Linked DNA regions of Homo sapiens: all the other regions are linked to region 3. Evidence: promoter capture Hi-C in 16 types of primary human blood cells and fetal thymus (Javierre and others, 2016). All regions are on one chromosome and are shown on one strand. The core of a region is centred on a gene start or on the middle of the fragment in contact, and the rest is flanking DNA. Distances in the headings are between cores, read along the strand shown. Region 1 overlaps LOC124903278 (a long non-coding RNA gene). Region 2 has its middle 12 kb from the start of OR11G2. Region 3 holds the start of OR4L1 (olfactory receptor family 4 subfamily L member 1).

What was found. The method cuts DNA at HindIII sites, captures the fragments that hold promoters and counts their contacts. A CHiCAGO score of 5 or more calls a contact.
Region 1: a fragment that was not itself captured here is called in contact with the fragment with the promoter of OR4L1 in region 3 in 15 of 17 cell types (total CD4 T cells, naive CD4 T cells, non-activated CD4 T cells and 12 more); the score reaches 11.9 in total CD4 T cells.
Region 2: a contact is called between a fragment that was not itself captured here and the fragment with the promoter of OR4L1 in region 3, in 2 of 17 cell types (M2 macrophages and M1 macrophages). The highest score is 7.8, in M2 macrophages.

The regions. Positions count from the first base shown.
Region 1 is chr14:19,923,387-19,926,086 of GRCh38, reverse strand. The region is part of intron 2 of LOC124903278 (a long non-coding RNA gene); the gene reads left to right. It also overlaps a transcript of OR4K1 not described here. Among named protein-coding and RNA genes, the nearest start is that of OR4K5, 4.1 kb to the right of the region's middle. The HindIII fragment of the contact is 2,156 bases long and covers 283-2,438 here.
Region 2 is chr14:20,201,365-20,204,064 of GRCh38, reverse strand. No RefSeq gene overlaps it. Among named protein-coding and RNA genes, the nearest start is that of OR11G2, 12 kb to the right of the region's middle. The HindIII fragment of the contact is 5,403 bases long and covers 1-2,700 here.
Region 3 is chr14:20,058,742-20,061,441 of GRCh38, reverse strand. It overlaps OR4L1 (olfactory receptor family 4 subfamily L member 1), which reads right to left and starts at 1,397. Exons shown (of 1, transcript NM_001004717.1): 1 at 459-1,397. The coding sequence starts at 1,397. The coding sequence ends at 459. The HindIII fragment of the contact is 2,043 bases long and covers 842-2,700 here.

The sequences.
Region 1 (2,700 bases), core at 111-2,610, 140 kb after region 3:
TATTTATGATGAAATGTAGATTTGTTTAAAAAGTAAAACACCTATGGTGAAATACTGGATCTTGGCTCTGCTGACAGATCCATTCCACCCACACCCCACCTTTATGTTCCTCTAAAGACCACCCTGAAGTGCCTTTGCAATCACCTACTCTGTTTTTTCCTGGAGGACTCTGTTACTCTGCATTCCTGGAAAGTGTACCTCTGATACTTTCCTCCTTGTCCTGTGACTAACTTGACTCATACTATTGCCAGTTGTCTCTATTTAGTCAATGGAACTAAAGCTTCTTCATCCTTTATCCCGTTGGCCTTTTGGGGTACTCTCCCCACGAGCCATGACACCGTCTCTCTGTAAAGTCTGAGGCATCACATCAGCTCTTTCGAACAGCTTCTGTGCTGGGCATTGTCTGAAGGACTGTTCCTTGTCAGAAGGACTGCTCATCAACTTAGTTCATAAGCATAGCAGAAGTAGCTTAAATTGTGAGATCTCAGGAAACAAATAAAAGTCTGCCCTGGGTTTGGTAGCATCCCTTCTTACTTTTTAAAATATTCAGATTATCAAAAGCAATTTAGGAATATATTCATCTACCATAAACAAATCCCCTAATAAGGTAGAGTTTGGCTTAGCCAGGGAGAAATATGTTAATTAACTCATTGTATGGGTTATCGTGAAGAAGAAGCCATATAATACAGAGCCTGTGTGAACCAAAAAGGTAGTTTTTTTTTTCTTTTCTTTATTCTGAGAGAAATAGCTGAAAATTAAAAGACTGAAGAGATTGGTGACTTGATCAAAAGCTAAGTAATCTGTTCAATGTCAAAAATAGTAATATAATCAATGTTCAAATCCCAGTTTTTGACAGCCAACTCAAGACACTTTCCTTTACACTTTTTCAATTGACTAGAGTTATTTCCACATTTACTAAAATGTTCACTTCTTCTGCCATTTTATTCAGTTAATGATATTTCTCTGTCAATTTGTCAGCAGTGCAGGGAAAGTCTATAGGATCTGTAAACCAGAGGAAAAAAAAAGAATTTTTAATACTATCCTATTACTTTGAAATGTGTGTATTAAAAAGTTGATTACCAAGTTATATTAATAGTTGCTTTATTTTTTTATTTATTTTTCTATTTTTTATATTTTAAACAAAATTTAAGGTGGGATTCTACAGTACATAATATCACAATCCTAACCGAAATACGATGCTATGTGCCTTTAATAGTTTCCCTTAAATAAGAATTAATTAAATTAGAAATTCATTGCTCTTAGCATTAGGAATGTCCCTTGTTTTTATTGGAACTAGAGTAATTTGAAAAATTTGTGGAAATAGTGCTGCAATAAACATACATGTGCATGTGTCTTTAGAATAGAATGATTTATATTCCTTTGGGTATATAACCAGTAATGGGTTTGCTGGGTCAAATGGTATTTCTGGCTCTAGATCTTTGAGGAATAGCTACACCGTCTTCCACGATGATTGAACTAATTTACACTCTCACCAACAGTGTAAAAGCATTCCTATTTCTCCACAGTTTCACCAGCATCTAATGCAAATCAAAACCACAATGAAATACCATCTCACACCAGTCAGGATGGCGATTATTAAAAAGTCAAGAAATAAATTTGAGTTTACCAAATGATAGCATTCACTTTATAAATGCTATCTTTTTTTTTTTTTTTTTTTTTTTTTTTGATACGGAGTTTTGCTCTTGTTGCCCAGGCTGGAGTGCAATGGCGCGATCTCGGCTCACCACAACCTCCGCCTCCCAAGTTCAAGCGATTCTCCTGCCTCAGCCTCCCGAGTAGCTGGGACTATAGGCATGTGCCACCATGCCCGGCTAATTTTGTATTTTTAGTAGAGAGGGGTTTTCTCTATGTTGGTCAGGCTGGTCTTGAATTCCTGACCTCAGGTTATCCGCCCACTTCGGCCTCCCAAAGTGCTAGGATTACAGGCGTGAGCCACCGCACCCAGCCCTATCATTTTTTATATTTTCAAGCATGTCATAGATGAATTTCACTTTAGTGCATAAATAGATGAAGCTACTGACTTTTTTTTATTCAACTGGCTCCTGATTTCTCTCATTAACATATTTGATGAGATGCTTCTGATTTTTCGATACCTTCAAAATACTTAAAAGTATCTGTATCTGTCAGAGTCTAGTCAGGAGACAGAACCCACATGAGTAATTTGAACAGAGAATACTTAATATAAAGAATTAGCAACTGGTAATAGGAATTAGCTACTACAAGGAGAATAAAAAGTAACTCTAAAAAAATACCCTAAGAGAGAACTGACATCTTTTACCATACTGTTTTTCTATTTATTAATATAGTGTCTATCTTCACTTATTTAAGTTTGATTTACTAATACACTCTTCATTACTACCTTTTGTTAAATTTTATAATTTTCTCTAAATGCACATCTTTAAATTTGTACATAAGCTTAGAGTATTTGTTGTTTTGCAAGTTACATTTTTTACATAAATAATTGTAATTTTTTGTTGACATATTTTTTCTTTTTCAACATTTATTTGTAAAAGATGTCATTCTCTATAAGTTAATAAATATGTTATATACAATGAATATAATAAATATCTTTGTATGTCAATTAACACATGAATCCAATGCAATTACAACAAAATCCTGAAATAATATTTTAAGAAATCTGACGAGCTGGTTGTAAAATGTTTATAGAACATAAAGGGG
Region 2 (2,700 bases), core at 116-2,615, 140 kb before region 3:
CCCAGAGCAAAGGCAAGAAGAATGTTTTGAAAGGCAATGATGAGACGTCTGTGTGGAATTCGAGATAACTTCTTTTTGTTCATAGGAAAAGTTATAAAAACTAATTTCTAGAAAATCAGTTGTAATGTCCTCATTTAATTTCTAATTTTTGTTGAGTCTTCTTTTTTTCTTAATCTAGCTAAAGTCTTGTCCACTTAGTTTATCTTTTTGAATAACAAACTTTTGGTTTTGTTCATTTTCTCTACAGTTTTATATTTTCACTTCATTTATCCCTGCTGTAATCTTCATTATTTCCTACCATTTGCTAGCTTTGAATTTAGTTTGTTCTTCTTTTTCTAGTTTCTTATGGCATAAAGTTAGGTTTTTGAGTTGAGATTTTTCTTCTTTTATAATGTAAGCCTTTATAGCTATAAATTTCTCTCTTAGTGCTGCTTTCTTTTCATCTTGTAAATTTTGGTATGTTGTGTTTTCATTTTTATTTGTCTCAAGATACTTTATAATTTCCCTTGTGACTTCTCTGACTCATCGCTTGGTTTAGATTGTGTTGTTGAATATCCACATATTTGTGGATATTTCTTTTTGCTGTTGATTTACGGTTTTATTCCATTGTGATTTGAGAAAGATAGGTACGATTTTAATCTTTCAAAATGATTAAGGCTGTTTTGTGACTTAACATTTCATGTAGGCTGGAGGATTAAAATATTTTACTTAAAAATTTTGAGTTGTGTCCATTCATAAAATGAAACAAAGGAAAAAGAGGATGGCAAAGTCTTTAATAGAAAGCCTACAGCCTGGGCAACATAGAGAGACCCAATTTCTAAAAAAAAAAAAAAAAAAATTAGCCAGGCATGGTGGCATGTGCCTGTGGTCCCAGCTACTTGAGAGGCTAAGGTGGGAGGATTGCTTGAGCCCAAGAGGTTGAGGCTGCAATTAGCTGTGATCATACCACTGTATTCCAGCATGGGTGACAGGGTGAGATACTATCTAAAAAAACCCCCAAACTGCAAACAACAACAACAAAAAGAAAGCCTAACACCTTTGAACTAAAAAAAAAAAAAAAAAAAAAAGATGAAGAGATTGCTAGTGTAATGGGGAAATTGAAGAAAATTCAAACGAGAGCTAAACCATGGCCACAAACTTCCAGGGATGAGTGATTCCCTTCTGAGTGGCATCAGGTCTAGCTCTGGTTCATCCTTACCTGAGGATGAAGACCATTAGAGCACCAGCTTTTTGTGACCACCCCCTCCCCACCAGCACCAGGTTCCTATTTCTATCTCCTCAGCCAGGAATTGTCCTGAAGCATAAGGATATGAACTACAGTCAAGTGCTCTCTGAGCATGAATGGCCTTAGTGCTCACCTCTCAGGCTTTCATAAAAAAATGACTTAGCCATTTTCTATTCTCTCTTCAGATTGTCAATGTTTTTAAGTTTTTTTTTAAATTTAGTATTTTTATTTGATCACAGCAAGATGGTAGATCGAAGCAATTCAACATTCTATTACTAAAATCTATATTTACTTAACATTTTAAATAATATCTCTCTTTTGTATTCAATTTATATTATTACTATTATTATTGTTATTTTTTGAGATGAAGTTTCACTCTTGTTGCCCAGGCTGGAGCACAATGGCATGATCTCAGATCACTGGAAGCTCCACCTCCCGGGTTCAAGGGATTCTCCCGCCTCAGCTTCCCAAGTAGCTGGGATTACAGGCATACGTCACCACACCCGGCTATTTTTTTTTTTGTATTTTTAGTAGAGACAGGGTTTCACCATGTTGGCCAGGCTAGTCTCGAACTCCTGATCTCAGGTGATCCACCCACCTCGGCCTCCCAAAGTGCTCGGATTATAGGCATAGCCACCACGCCCAGCCTATATTATATTTTATGGTCATACTTGCTTTGTCTCTGGGACCTTAGTAGTAACCACTAGCAGTGGTTGATTATACGATGGTGTAAAATAATTTCTAGAAGCACTTCTATTCTGTAACCTGAGGTGCACTTGCAAAAAGACAATGCCTGTGCTGTGCTTACAACCTCTTTCACACAAGTTCCATACTTACATACATGCAGCTTCTCGTGAGCTTCCACTGTAATTAGGCCTTCCCCTCTCACTGAACTTTTGCTACTTAACAAAAAGAAAACCTTCCAATTTTCTCGATCACAAGACTGTGAATCCTATGAGGGAAGAAAATGTGTCTTATATACCTTTGTCTCAAATTTATTTCCTGGCTCAATGTTTGGTACATTGCAGGTGCCGAACAAGGGCAATAAAAATCAGTAATTGAAAAATAAGGGAGATGATGTCTAAATATAACTGTGATAAAACTCGTTAAAGTTTTATAACAGTATATTTACACAAGCCCTAAGATGAGGAAGCTGTATCTCAGGTTTTTTCTAAAGTACGAAACTATCTGAGTGAAATTATGTTAAGGGGCTCTGAAGACCTCGCTTCAACATTTCTATCAATAAACAGGCTCCTAAGGAACCCTAGAATTGCGGGAAAAAATGATTTTCCAAATCTAATGATCAGAAAGTTCTCCTAGAAAATTGTTCTTTGTTGGCCGGGTGCAGTGGCTCACGCCTGTAATCCCAGCACTTTGGGAGGCCGAGGTGGGTGGATCACCTGAGGTCAGAAGTTCGAGACCAGCCTGGCCAACATGGTGAATCTCCATCTCTACTAAAAATACCAAAAATTAGC
Region 3 (2,700 bases), core at 148-2,647:
GTGGACTCATTCTTACTTTTTGCCTCCATTGATTCAAGAAACTAGAATTGCTTTTTCTGTTAACATTATTTAATTCATGACTTGTTCATGATACCTCATTTAATAATAGTATAAATTTATGAATAACATTATCAATATATATTAAAATAACCTCTAATAATATTCATATCTTCATGTATTCATTTACAGTTGTTTCTTTATTAATGAATATATTGAATGTATATGATAAAAATCCTCAATAATCTTTTTATGTTTATTTATGTCTATTTTTATGTCTATTTTGCTGCAGATCTCTATCCTTATGTTTATAAAAGTCTTAAATGTAAAATTTAAAGTAATTTAGTATTGTCTTTATGCGTTATTATTATAACATAAGAAAAGTGAAATGATGCATTATACATAATCTATTCAAACTATCTTATCGTAGCATTTAAAAGTTAATTATATAGTGCTAACATCTAGAAATTCTGTGCAGAACTAACATATTGGAACCGTAATTTTCTTATGGCCTCTTGCATTTTCTTATTTCTCAGGGTATAAATACTCGGATTCAGTAAGGGTGTGATAACTGTATAAAATACGGCAAGAGTTTTATTGCTTGCCAAACTACTGAATGGCCAAACATAGATAAAAATACAAGGTCCAAAGAACAGAGTGACCACAATGATGTGGGCAGACAATGTGGACAGCGCCTTGGAGAGCCCATGTGATGATTTTTTTGGTACACTGACCAGGATGACAATGTAAGAAACAAGCAAGAGGATGAAACAGGTGAAAGAGAGCAGCCCGCTGTCAGCAATGACAAATAATTCCAGGGTGTATGTTTCAATGCAAGCAAGCTTGATCACAAGGGGAAGATCACAAAATATGTTGTTTATGACATTGTGGCCACAGAAAGGCAAGTTCATTGTTAAAACTATCTGGCTTATGGAGTGTAAAAAACCAATTATCCATGAAAGTATCGCAAACCCCTTTAGCAGCTTGTGGCTCATGATTGTCCTATAGTGCAGGGGTTTACATATGGCTACATACCTGTCAAAGGCCATGATTATCAGAAGAGTCATCTCAGCACCCCCAAAGAAGTGCATGAAGAACATCTGGGTCACGCAGCCCCACACAGAGATGGTCTTGTGGTCAGTGAGCAAATCTATGATCATCTTGGGTGTTGTGGCAGTGGAGAGACACATGTCCAAAAAAGAGAGATTTCCAAGGAGAAAGTACAAGGGAGAATGAAGGGTTGACCTACATGTCACTGTGACCATAATGAGAATGTTTCCCATCACAGTAGCACCGTAGATCAGGGAAAATGTCACAAAGAAGAAAATTTGAAGTTCCCATCGTCCAAAAAATCCTAGTAAAATAAACTCGGTCACTAGAGATCCATTTTTAAGATCCATTTACTCAACTCAGAAAGGTTCCAGAAGTTCTTTATATACAAAGAGAATTAAAAAATAAGTCACAGTTAACACCAATATTTTCTTATTTCTATTAGTTGGTGATAATAGTTGATGATATGAGATCATATAATTTTAAATATATCAACACAGAGATTAGCTTAAATATTATATCACTTTGAAACAATTACTCTGCAGTAATTACAAATCATTTGAAGAAGTAGAAGTTCCATTTTCTATTGTTTATTCCATAAAATCATACTCTTATCAATGGATCTTGACTTTCTTACTCATTTGTTCACATATAAAGATTAGATACTAATTAATTACTTTTTATTTTGCCTTTTATTATTATAGTATTCTGTACCTGCACTTCTTGAGATTATGTTATCCCAATATATAAGGAATACAAGATTTAGAAAATGAAGAATTACATTGTTCTACATCTCTGAAGTAATTTATGAAGGTTTTTCTATGGTTCTAAACTAAATAAGCAAACAAACAAACAAAAAGCACACACACACACACACACAAATCAGGAGCAAATTATACATGGATGAAAGTATATAAATTTATTTAAAATAATTTTTCTTTTTAATATACATGTATACCTCTTTTATTGTGTTTCACTTTATTGTCCTTTGCAGTTATTTAATGTTTTATAAACTGAGGGTTTGTGACAACCCTGGATCCAGCAAGTCTATTGGCACCATTTTTCCAACAGCATGTGCTCACTTTATGTCTCTGTGTCACATTTTGGTAATTCCCAAAATATTTATTTCAAACTTTATTATTATTATTACACGTTATTTGATCTGTGACCAGTAATCTTTTATGTTACTATTTTCATTATTTTTGGGCACCACAAGCCGTGCCCATGTAGAATGGCAGACAATTGATAAATGTTGTTTCTAACGGCTCCACCAACCTACTCTTCCCTCATCTCTCTCCTTCTCTTCAGGCCTCTCTATTCTTTGAGATACAACAATATTGGATTTAGGCCAATTAATAGCTTTGCAATAGCCTCTAAGTGTTCAAGTAAAAGGAAAAGTTGCATGTCTTTTATTTGAAATAAACTAAGAAAAAACTGGAGACAGTTAAACGTTCAGTGGTTTCCAGGGGTTTGAATGAAGAAGGAGAAATGAAGAAATAAGAGAAGTACGGAGAATTTGCAGGGTATTGAAACAATTCTTATCTACTATACTTAGAAATACATAACACATTTGTCAAAACCCATAGCATGTATAACATCAAGAGTAAATCCTAATGTAAACTACAAATTTGGGGAGATAATAATGTGCAATGT